2 separate regions of the Homo sapiens genome follow, and region 2 is linked to region 1. Evidence: promoter capture Hi-C in human tissues and cell types (Jung and others, 2019). All regions are on one chromosome and are shown on one strand. The core of a region is centred on a gene start or on the middle of the fragment in contact, and the rest is flanking DNA. Distances in the headings are between cores, read along the strand shown.

What was found. Contacts are between HindIII fragments. The study calls those that stand out against the background at their distance.
Region 2: a contact is called between a fragment that was not itself captured here and the fragment with the promoter of SCAPER in region 1, in 1 of the 25 tissues and cell types used here (H1 embryonic stem cells).

Annotation. Positions count from the first base shown.
Region 1 is chr15:76,902,295-76,908,415 of GRCh38, forward strand. It overlaps SCAPER (S-phase cyclin A associated protein in the ER), which reads right to left and starts at 3,046. Exons shown (of 32, transcript NM_020843.4): 1 at 3,005-3,046. RefSeq lists silencers at 2,622-2,701, 2,722-2,831, 2,842-3,151 and an enhancer at 2,892-3,392. The HindIII fragment of the contact is 13,869 bases long and covers 1-6,121 here.
Region 2 is chr15:76,559,501-76,565,621 of GRCh38, forward strand. All of the region lies in intron 23 of SCAPER (S-phase cyclin A associated protein in the ER), which reads right to left. Among named protein-coding and RNA genes, the nearest start is that of MIR3713, 24 kb to the right of the region's middle. The HindIII fragment of the contact is 4,573 bases long and covers 1-4,544 here.

The DNA of each region.
Region 1 (6,121 bases), core at 1,796-4,295:
AGAATATGTGATTGTAAAAGTCACAAACAACAGGCACTAGGGATCACTAGGCCAAGGGGAGCATGGGCTGAAAGACCACCTGTTGTGTACTATGCTTATGGCCTGTGTGATGGGATAATTGGGACCCCAAGCATCGGCATCAATTTACCCATGTAACAAATCTACACATGTACCCTCTACTATATAAGTTGAATTTTTTTTTAAAAAAAGGTTACCATCCAGCAGAAACTGCAAACAGAATTTTATTAATGATTTAATTTTTGCTATGCCAGCCATTTACAGTTTTCTCTTCTACAATTTCAGAAATGCCAATTCCACAATGGATATCAGATTGTACCCTTACAGAGAATTCTATTAAACTTCCCCCTAAATAATACCCCCACTTTCTAAGTGTTTAAATAACATTCACATGTGATTCCCAAAGAAGTTGTTTATCCTTTAAAACTAGTCTGGGCTGTGGTCAGGTATGAAAGTGAAAGAGGCCAGGTGCAGTGGCGCACGCCTGTAATCCCAGCACTTTGGGAGGCCGAGGTGGGTGGATCATCTGAGGTCAGGAGTTTGAGACCAGCATGGCCAACATGGTGAAACCCGGTCTCTACTAAAAATACAAAAAAAAATTAGCCAGGCATGGTGGTGAGTGCCTGTAGTTCCAGCTACTCAGGAAGCTGAGGCAGGAAAATCGCTTGAACTTGGGAGGTGGAGTTTGCAGTGAGCCAAGATTGCGCCACTGCACTCCAGCCTGGGTGACAGAGTGAGACTCGGTTTCAAAAAAAAAAAAAAGAAAGTGAAAGAAATGACAGAATCTCAAGTCCCTTCATCTTACTTATCTTTAAAACATTCCTGCAGCTAAATGAAGACATTAATGACCTTAATATCAATCTTTTAGGAGTTCTTAAAATACCTATGAAGCACCAATGGCAAACATTTTTAAAGTCTGTTTAGAATACTATATCCTTTGGACCAGTCACCAAAATTTATTTATAAACACATTTGTACAGTACTGCTGATTACACTTCCATGGTTATTTGACCTGAACAACCAAGTGATTAACCATAATGCTATGGTCTGCATGTTTGTGTTCTTCAAAATTCTTGTGGAAATCCTAGTTTCCAAGGTCATATCAGGAGGTGGGGCCTTTGGGAGATGACTGTATTATGAAAGCAGAACCTTAATGAATGGGATAAATTCCCTTATAAGAGGCCAGAGAGAGACCCCTTCACCCTTGCACCATGTAAGGAGACAGCTAGAGGGTGCCATCTATTAACCAGAAAGCAGGCTATCACCAAACACTGAATCATCAGACATCTTGATCTAGGACTTCCCAGCCTCCAAAACTGCAAGAAATGAATTTCTGTTGTTTATAAGCCACTCAGTCTGAGGTATTTTGCTATACCAGACCCAAATGGACCAAAGACACATAGAGTATATTTTTAATGCAGCTCAAGGGAGTGTGGAGAAAGAAGGAAAAGAGCATTTGTTGAGGGCTTACCATGGGCTAGGAACAGTTCTCAATACTTTACAGACACCTAATTTATTACTATCAACAAAATTATGAGGTGGATATTATTCCTACTTTACAGATAAGAAAGGCTCAGAAAAATTAATTTGCCAAAAACAAGGGTTGGGGCTGAGATTCAAACTCAAAACAGTCTGCCTTCAAAGCCATCAGATTACTTCTCCCACAGACAACCTTCCAAATCACATTAAAACTTGACTCTTTGATTGATTAAAAATATTAATTCTTTAGTGGATATCATTCTTCAAGTGGCATAAATCATCTGCAACCAACAAACTTTGAGGAAAAGTCATAGTTAACAGAAATAACAGAAGGGAAAGAGCACCAGTATAGGCCAGAGTGGGACAGTGGTCAGACTACCAACCTTAGGTCAGAAAACTTAACCCCAGATTTACCACTCACCAGCTGGTGATCTAAGGCAAGTAATAACCTTTTGAGCCCCCGTTTCTCCATTCATAAAATAAGTATTACTCCTAGCCCATCCATCCTTCTACCAGATTATTTATGAAGATGAAAAGTTAATGATGAAATTAATCCATAAACTAAGACAAACTATAATTCATATAAGGAATTAGTATCTGTTCGGTAAAATGACTATTAATGAATAGCTATTTTCATGGAAAATAACTTGTCACAACTAGAATAAGAGATGCAGTCCACCAGCAACAGGAAGCTGCTCACAAACAGGCGGCCTCATCTCAGCTGGGGCCCCCTTAACAGCAGCAGGTGTTGCTTACAGGACCAGTTTTGTGCCTGCTTTCTAACAATCCCGTTCCTCCCTGGTGCCGTTCCCACGAACGCGCCTGGAAAACGGTGTAGAGGAAAGGCGCCAAGGAAGTGCTGTTTTGGAAAAGAGCAGCAACAGAGGCAGGAGGCTGGGTCCCACTACTCCCAGGTGCGAGAGGCTCTTCGCCCCTCCAGGCCTCAGCGCACGCATCTGGAAGACGGAGAGGCCATTCCTGCCCCGTTTCCTGGGCAGAGCTAAGATCAGAGTACAGGGAAAGCATGGTAAACCCCGCTGGGAATGACAGATGACGAAGACGATCACCTGTCAAACGAAGGGAGGCTCCTCCAGGGGCCCCTCGCATTTAGACATTCCAGAAGCCTCGTCACCCGCGGCCGGGGCTGCCCCCAAGTGAGGTGACGCGGCAGCCCCCCACTCACCCCTCAGACCGCGTAGTGTGCGGGGTCTCACGTCCCTCACACCCCAGATGAGCCCGCAGGGCAGGGCCCGGACGCGGCTCACCCCAGCCCCCGTCCCGAGGCCTCCGAGGCCGACCTCCGAGCCCTCCCCAGGCGACCGCGGCTCCCCTCCCCCAGCAACGATCCCTGCCCCGCTCAACTCGCACTCCCAGGTGAGGGGAGGGGGTGAAAGGGCGTACCCCGCCGCCATTTTGTCCCCTGGTCCCCGCAAGGCATTCAGACGGCCCGCGCCCCAACCCGGACCCGCCCGGGTCTGCGCTACGCACGCCCCTCGCGGACACTCACCCCCGACCGCCCTGCTTAGTTCGGGGCGGCTCAAAGCGTCCCGCCGGGAAAGGGGCGTGACGGGGCGGGGCAGGGAGGCCTCGGAGAGGCGGGGTGGCTTCCCGGCGCACCACGTGATCTCAGCCGCTGCCGCGCCGCTCCCGGCTGCAAGATCTGTGTTGTCCGCGCGCAGGCGCACGCCCGTTCGCGCCGTTGGGGCGCCCAGGCGGGAGGTGTGAGGGTTGATTTGGTTCGATGTCCCGGCGCGGCGTTTCCGAAGCTGTTTCTTTTCCTAGGTTAAGCTTACACCGCCGCTTTTGGCCACACAGGTCTTTCTCGTACTCAATCTCTTCCCTCCTCCTGCCTTATCACCACAGTCAATCCACAGATTAAGGACTTAGAGACGCGCCTCACAGAAATCTGTGCTGGCGAAAGCACTTGACAGGAGCACGCTGGGCTGCGCTGAACACAACTAGGCCTCCGAGAAGCTTTATCAGGGCCCTTCTGTGTGCCAGGCTTGGAAGGTCGAAGTACAGAGACCTAACAAATACGTTTCATCTACTTCAAAGACAAACATATGATGAATTAAATACTTTAACGTTTAAATCAGTCTGAACAAAATAGAAAAAAGATTCAATGCAGACTGTAATTATCAAACGAATATTCACCGTCCCTTTTCATCCAGCTGGGAAACAGCTCTTTACCCTTCCCTCTCCCTCCCCACCCGCAGTAGGCGGGAAGTCCTGGACTCACAAGCGTTGTGGGGGCAGGAACCATATGGCTATGTTCTGGCTCCCCTTCTCTCTTGCCTTCTTAGAAAACTCGCTTTTTCATTTATTCAGCAAATGTTTATTGACCACATACTATATATCAGATGGTATTCTAGATGCTTGGAGTTAATACGTGAGCAAAATAAACAGAAATCTCTAAAAAACCTCCGGCTTCTTGGAGCAGGGTGAAACCAGGCAAGTGTTACATCAAGTTTAGCCAAAAGCTGTGTCCTTACATATTTTAAGTTCAGCCTGAAGGTTTCTCCGTAAATAGTAAACTATAACCTAAATGGAGGTGTAAATACACTGCAACCTACTCTTGCGCCAATCACCAAGTTTTGGCCAAAGACGGCCAACTGTTCAAACCGTGTTCAAATAAGGTAAACGTCTAGCTATAACCATTCTGGCTGTTTCCCTACCTCACTTTTCTTTCTCTGTCTATAAACCTTTTTCCACCATGTGGCTCTGCGGGAGTCTGTATGAACCTACTCTGGCTCAGGAGGCTGCCTGATTCGGGAATAATTCTTTGCTCAAACTCTGTTTAATTTGGCTAATATTTTGCTTTTAACACAAGAAATAGTAAACACAATAAATAAGTAAATTATATAACATGATAAGCACTACAGTTAACAAAATGAGTAGGATAAGGGGGATAGAGTAGGGAGCATACTACAATTCTATAAAAGGCGGTCAGGGCCTCATTTCTTAATTATCCCCACTTCCTTTCATACTCATAAGCATGTAAACAACCTGAAGTCTCTCCCATCTTGAAATCTCCCGCCGAACCTACCAGACTCCACTTCAACCTCTGCTTTCTTTCCTATAATACATTTCTCCAATTATCTAAACAAGAGTGCCTCCAATTCCTCAACCACTACTCAAGTCTGGACTTACTGCACTCTGGTTTCTGCCCCACCACCCCACTGAAACCATTCTTTCCAACATCACTAGGGGCCAGCCGCCGTGGCTCGCGCCTGTAATCCCAGCACTTTGGGAGGCTGAGGCAGGTGGATCACCTGAGGTCAGGAGTTCAAGACCACCCTGGCCAAAATGGCGAAACCCTGTCTTTACCAAAAATACAAAAAAAAAAAAAAAAAAAATAGCCGGGTGCGGTGGCGCACACCTATAGTCCCAGCTACTCGGGAGGCTGAGGCACGAGAATCCCTTGAACCTGGATAGCAGAGGTTTGCAGTGAGCTGAGATCATGCCACTGCACTCCAGCCTGGGTGACAGTGCGAGACTCCATCTCAATTAAAAAAAAAAAAAAAAAAAAAGTTGGGCTGGGCTGGTGGCTCCCGCCTGTAATCCCAGCACTTTGGGAGGCCGAGGCAGGCAGATCACGAGGTCAGGAGATCGAGATCGAGACCATCCTGACCAACATGGTGAAACCCCATCTCTACTAAAAATAACAAAAATTAGCTGGGCGTGGTGGCATGTGCCTGTAATCCCAGCTACTCAGGAGTCTGAGGCAGGAGAATCGCTGAACCAGGGAGACGGAGGTTGCAGTGAGCACAGATCATGCCACTGCACTCAAGCCTGGCGACAGAGCGAGACTCTGTCTCAAAAAAAAAAAAAAAGTCACTAGGGATTTCCCTACTATATATCTTATGGACATTATCATCATTACCTAACTTAATTTCTCTTCATGACCCTCCTTCCTTCTGGAAATACTTTTCCTTGCCTTTCATTTTTACTCTCTTGGTAGCACTTCTCCATCTCTAACCACTCCCTCTCCATCTCTTTTAAAGTCTCTCTTATTTCTCCCAGCCTTTAAATATTGTTATCCCACAGGAATAGGTATAAGCCTTCACTCTTTTCCCACTGGACACACTCTCTACATGACCACTGCCTTTTACATAACTTTGGTTAGCATCTTTATGCTCTGGATTTCCGAATATATATCCCCAGCCCTGATTCCTACTCCTGGGATCCAGGCCACATTGTTAACTACCTACTGGTCATCTCCACTTGAATTAATAAAAATAAATATGACAAAAATAAAAATGATTCATCTTTCTTATATACATATAAAACAGCTTTATTGAGATGTAACCTACATACAAATCAGTGGTTTTTAGGATATTCACACAATTGTACAATCATCACTGCATTTTCTTTACCCCGGAAAGGAACCCAGTACTCACTTCTCCATTTTCCCTCAATTCTCTCAGCCATAGGCAACCACTAATCTACTTTCTCTATGCATAGATTTGCCTACTCCGGACACCTTGTATAAAGGGAGTCATGAGATGTGGTATTTTGTAACTGGCTTCTTTCACTTTGCATATATTCGAGGTATGTTTCTGGGCGCGGTGGCTCACGCCTGTAATCCCAGCACTTTGGGAGGCCAAGGCAGGCGGATCACAAG
Region 2 (6,121 bases), core at 1,008-3,507, 340 kb before region 1:
TGAGTCGGTTAAACTCTTTCCTTTATAAATTGCCCAATATGTGGCAGTTCTTTATAGCAGTATGAAACAGACTAATACAATGTCCTTTACAGGAACATGGATGGAACTGGAGGCCATTATCCTAAGTGAACAAATGCAGGAAAAGAAAACCAAATACCACTTCTCATTTGTAAGTGGGAGCTAAATATGAGTACACATGAACACAAAGAAGAGAGCAATGGATACCAAGGCCTACCTGAGGGTGGACCTTGGTAGGAGGTTGAGGACTGAAAAATTACCTGTTGGGTACTACGCTTATTACCTGGGTGATGAAATAACCTGTACACCAAATCCCCATGACACAAAACTTACCTAAGTAACAAACCTGCATATATGCCCCTAAAACTAAAAGTTAAAGAGAAACAACAACTTGTATATGTGTGTGTGTGTGTGTATGTGTGTGTGTATGGGTATGCATATGTTTACTACTTTGTAAAGAAAGTTAAAATAGTTATGCTATTTTGTTAGAAACATCAAATTCCCACACATCAAATATTTATGGTGTCATTCCCACTGAGTTTTATTTTTTTTTTTCTTATTAGCTTTCTGCTATGGTCTTAATGTTTGTGTGCCCCTCTCCAAATTTACATGTAGAAACTTAATCCCCGGTGTGATAGCATTGGGTGTGGGTCCTTTGGGGAAATAATTTAGGAGGTCTCTAATCTTGGAAATGGAATTAGTACCCTTGTGAAGGAGGTTGAAGGGAGTAATCCTATCCTACTTTTCAAAGGAAGAAACTGAAACTTACAAAGGTTAATAAAACCTTGGTGAACTCACACAGCTACTACATGATCTATTTGGAATTTGAATTCAGGCCCGTAACTAGAAAGCCTGTGCTCTTAACAGGTGCATTATATTGTTTCAACACTTGCTGACTGCCTACTGATTGCAATATTTCATTTAATAGCCACACAATTCTTCGGGATGTGCCAAAACCTTATATTTTACTGATAAGGAAACTGACACCCAGAGAAATTAATTAACTTGTCCAGGGTCACACAATAACAAAACAGTAAGTTCTAGGTCCATGCTTTTAACACTGCTCTTAACTGCTTCCCTAAATACCTTCCCAATGATGATCCAAATCCAACCCACATCATCACTTTCAACAATCCTGTTTCTTCATAGTTCCTGGGAATGGAATAGAAAATAAGCTAAATGATTTAATTTATTCTAGAGTACAGTTCTCCAAGTATCCATTTACGACTTTGTAGTATCAAAGAAAAGTGAATTCCCAGGGATGCAGTGCTGGGGGATATACACCTAGCACTAGAAAGAAATACCTTCAAGACTTCTCAATTTTTTCCATATGGCCCATGTTTATCATAACTAGAAAATAATGTATTATATTAAGGAGAAATGAGTTTTCTACCTGCATTAGTTAATACACAGGGTATCTGTCATGGAGTCTACTAATTTAAAAGAACTGAGCTGAACTGAAGACAGCTAGCATCAGGATCCATACACGGGCAATTTCTCTCATTTTTTTTTAGTGTCATTATTTCCGAGAACCCAGACTTACATAAATGTGGTTAAAAACAGTAAGTATTTACTCACTGCGTGAGGCAATCAATCACTAAGGTGAGCTTAGAGTAGAATATAGCCAGAGAGTTAGCATGATGGAATACTATCAGGCTGCTATAAGCAGAAACCTTAATAAGCACATCTGCTTACTGAGAAATAACATCACTCAATGTCACATGTTGGGCCAAAAGAGCTTATAATTTATTTACTTAAAATTAAGATTAAATAATTAATGGTCCTACTTCTGGTTCTCAAATATCATTTTCATGATATTTCTTACCTATTGTAATAATTGACATGCCTGGTTGAAATTTCCTTTAAAAATTATTTTACCATAAAGTATTTTATATACTACCTTTCTTCAAGAGATATTTTTAGTATCTTTTGCACAGGTATGGACAAAAACTTAGGATTATAAAAATTTTTTTTTAATGTTTTTGTTCCCTGAAATGTTTTAATAAAACCGATACTTGAGGGAAGTGTGCTATTTTACCAGCTTTGAGTAACTTTTCTTAGCACTGTTTTAGGGAAGGGTGGTTAATCACAGTATGTAGGTAGAATACAGTTATTAAAACTGGTCTTTTCAATAAACGACACTCAAGAAATTATGCATCTATACGGGCAAGAAAAACAAAATGAAGTCTCTACCTCACTTTTTTTTTTTAGACGGAGTTTCGCTCCTTTTGCCCAGGCTGGAGCGTAATGGCTCAATCTCGGCTCACTGAAACCTTTGCTTCCCTGCAACCTTTGCCTCCTAGTATTAGTTTTTTTTTTTTTTTTTAATTAATATGAGGCAGAGGCCAGGTGCGGGGTGGCTCAGGCCTGTAATCCCAGCACTTTGGGAGGCCAAGGCAGGTGGATCACCTGAGGTCAGGAGTTCGAAACCCACCTGGCCAACATGGTGATCCCCATCTCTACCAAAAATACAAAAAATTAGCTGGGTGTGGTGGCACGTGCCTATAATCCCCCAGATACTCTGGAGGCTGAGGCGGAAGAATCGCTTGAACCTAGGAGGCAGAGGTTGCAGTGAGCTAAGACTGCACCATTGCACTACAGCCTGGGCAACAAGAGCAAAACTTCATCTCAAAAAAAAAAAAAAAAAAAAAATTAATACCAAATGGACAAGAGACTAAAAGTAAAACCTCAAGAATATAGGAGAATATCTTCTTTACTTTGGGATGGGATATTTTAAAAGAAGAGCAAAAACAACCTTTATAAAAGACAATATTGATAAATCTGACATACTAATATTAAGAACTTTTGTTCATCAAAAGAACCAAAAGACAATAAAAACACAGCTCAATAACAGGAGTAGATATGTTTAATACATTTGAATAACCTAGGACTAGTGTCCAGAACACACAGGATATTCTAACAATCAGTAGAAAAACGTGCAAAAGATTTGAACAGGCATGTCACAAAAGAAGAAACCCAAATGGCCAATAAATATGAAAAGGTGCCTCAACCTATCTGCCAAAAAACAAATGTACATTAAAATCTTGGCAAGATAGCACTGTCTACCTACAAAAGTAGCAAAAATCAAAATGTCTGATAATAACAAGCGCTGGAAAGAAAGGAAGCAACAAGACTTTTATATACTGCTGGTAGAAATGCAAATTGGTACAATTTCTTTGGAAAACTATTTAGCATTATCAAGAAAAGATAAAGAGAGACATATGTTATGACCCAGGAACTCTGCTTGCTAGAGAAATTTTTGCACAAATACCAGGATACATGCTTACAGGCACATTTTTCATAAAAATAATCCAAATGTCCATCAACAGTGGAATGGATAAATACCACTGTGACAAATTCATACAATGGCACATTATACAGTAATGGAAATAAAACTGTATAACATAAATTCTCGAAAACATAATTTTGATAGAAGGAAGCCATCAAAATGCAGACAGTAGGATTCCATTTACATGAAGTTCAAAACTAGACATGTTTAACTAACATGTGGTGTTTAGAAACAGACCCTTAAGTGATAAAACCATAAAGAAAAGGAAGTCGCTTCTTAAAAGTCAAATTAATAGTTTATCATAAAATGCAGAGAAAGGAGTGTAATTAGCAAAATAAACAGGAGCGGACAAAAGGGTTCTGGGATGCTGACAATGTCCTATTTCTCAATTAGTAGTCACTGAGGTTTTTGCCTTCATAGTTTTCATTATTTTGTGCAAGTAAGTATCTGTGTACTGTATTACATAAGGCAAGAGGTTTCAAAGATACATTTTTAAATAGTCCAAAAATAGTTAGTTTACATAATAATAGAAAATACCACTGAACGCACAGAAATACAAGCAACAATTGGAGAATATTATGAATACCTCTATGCACATAAACTAGAAAATCTAGAAGTGGATAAATTCCTGGACACATACACCCTCCCAAGACTGAACCAGGAAGACACTGAATTCCTGAACAGATCCATAATGAGCTCTGAAATGGATGCAGTAATAAATAGCCAATCAACCAAAAAAAGCCCAGGATCAGAAGGATTCACAGCTGAAGTCTATCAGGTATACAAAGAAGAGCTAGTACTATTCCTACTGAAACTGTTCCAAAAAATTGAGGAGGGACTCCCCCCCAGTTCATTCTATGAGGTCAGCATTATCCTGATACCAAAACCTGGAAGAGATACAACAAAGAAAACTTGAGGCCAATATCCTTGAAGAACATCAATGCAAAATTCTCAACAAAATACTGGCAATCCAAATCCAGCAACACATCAAAAAGCTTATCCACCATGATGAAGTAGGTCTCATCTCTGGAATGGAAGGTTGGTTCAACATATGCAAATAAATAAATGTGACTCCTCACATAAACAGAATTAAAGACAAAAAACCCCCACATGATTATCTCAATAGAGACAGAGAAGGCTTTTGATAAAATTCAACATCCCTTCATGTTAAAAACTCTCAATAAAGTAGGTATTAAAATAACATACCTCAAAATAATAAGAGCCATCTACGACAAACCCACAGCCAACATCATACTGACTGGGCAAAAGCTGGAAACTTTATCCTTGAAAGCCGGCACAAGACAAGGATGCCTTCTCTCACCACACCTATTCAACATAGTATTGGAAGTCCTGGCCAGGGCAATCAGGCAAGAGAAAAAAATAAAGGACATCCAAATAGAAACGGAGGAAGTCAAACTATCCTTGTTTGCAGATGACACGATCCTATATCTAGAAAACCCCATTGTCTCAGTCCAAAAGCTTAAGCTGATAAACAGCTTCAGCAAAATCTCATGATACAAAATCAATGTGCAAAAATCACTAGCATTCCTACACACCAACAACAGTCAAGCGAAGAGGCAAATGAGGAACAAATTCCCATTCCATATTGCCACAAAAAGAATAAAATACCTAGGAATACAGTCAACTAGGGAGGTAAAAGATCTCTATAAGGAGAACTACAAACCACTGCTCAAAGAAATTAGAGATGATAAAAACAAATGGAAAAACACTCCATGCTCATGGATAAGAAGACTCAATATTGTTAAAATGGCCACACTGCCCAAAGCAATTTATTAGATTCAATGCTATTCCCATTAAACTATCATTGATATTCTTCACAGAACTAAAAAAAGAAAAATTTTTTTTAAATTCATATGGAAGCAGAAAAGAGCCAAAATAGCTAAGGCAATCCAAAATAAAAAGAAGAAAGCTGGAGGCATCATGCTACCCAACTTTAAACTATATTACAGGGCTACGATAACCAAAACAGCATGGTACTGGTACGAAAACAGACACATAGACGAATGGAACAGAATAGAGAGCCCAGAAATAAGGCCACACACCTACAACTATCTGATCTTCGACAAACCTGACAAAAACAAGCAATGGGGAAAGGATTCCCTATTGAATGAATAGTGATGCAATACCTGGCTAGCCATATACAGAAGATTTAAACTGGACCCATTCCTTATACCATGTACAAAAATTAACTCAAGATGGATCAAAGACTTAAATGTAAAATCCGAAACTAAAAACCCTGGAAGACAACCTAGGCAATACCATTCAGGACACAGGCAAAGATCTTATGATGAAGACACCGAAAGCAATTGCAACAAAAGCAAAAACTAACAAATGGTATCTCATTAAACTGAAGAGCTATTGCACAGAAAAAGAAACTATCAAGAGAGTAAACAGATAACCTACAGAATGGGAGAAAACTTTTGCAAACTATGCATCTGACAAAGGCCTAATACCTGGCATCTATAAGGAACTTTTTTTTAATAAGGAACTTAAATTTACAAGATAAAAACCAATAACCCCATTACAAAGTGGGCAAAGGGCAAGAACAGACACTTTTGTAAAGAAGACATACAGGCAGACAACAATCATTTTTTAAAAAGTTCCACATCACTGATCATTAGAGAAATGCAAATCAAAACCACAATAAGATATCATCTCACACAGTCAGAATGGCTATGATTAAAATGTCAAAAAAATAACAGATGCTGGTGAGGTTGTGGAGAAAAAGGAATGCTTATACACTCAGTTTGATGACGTCTGACTACTGCTCACAACTATCTAAGCACCACCCAA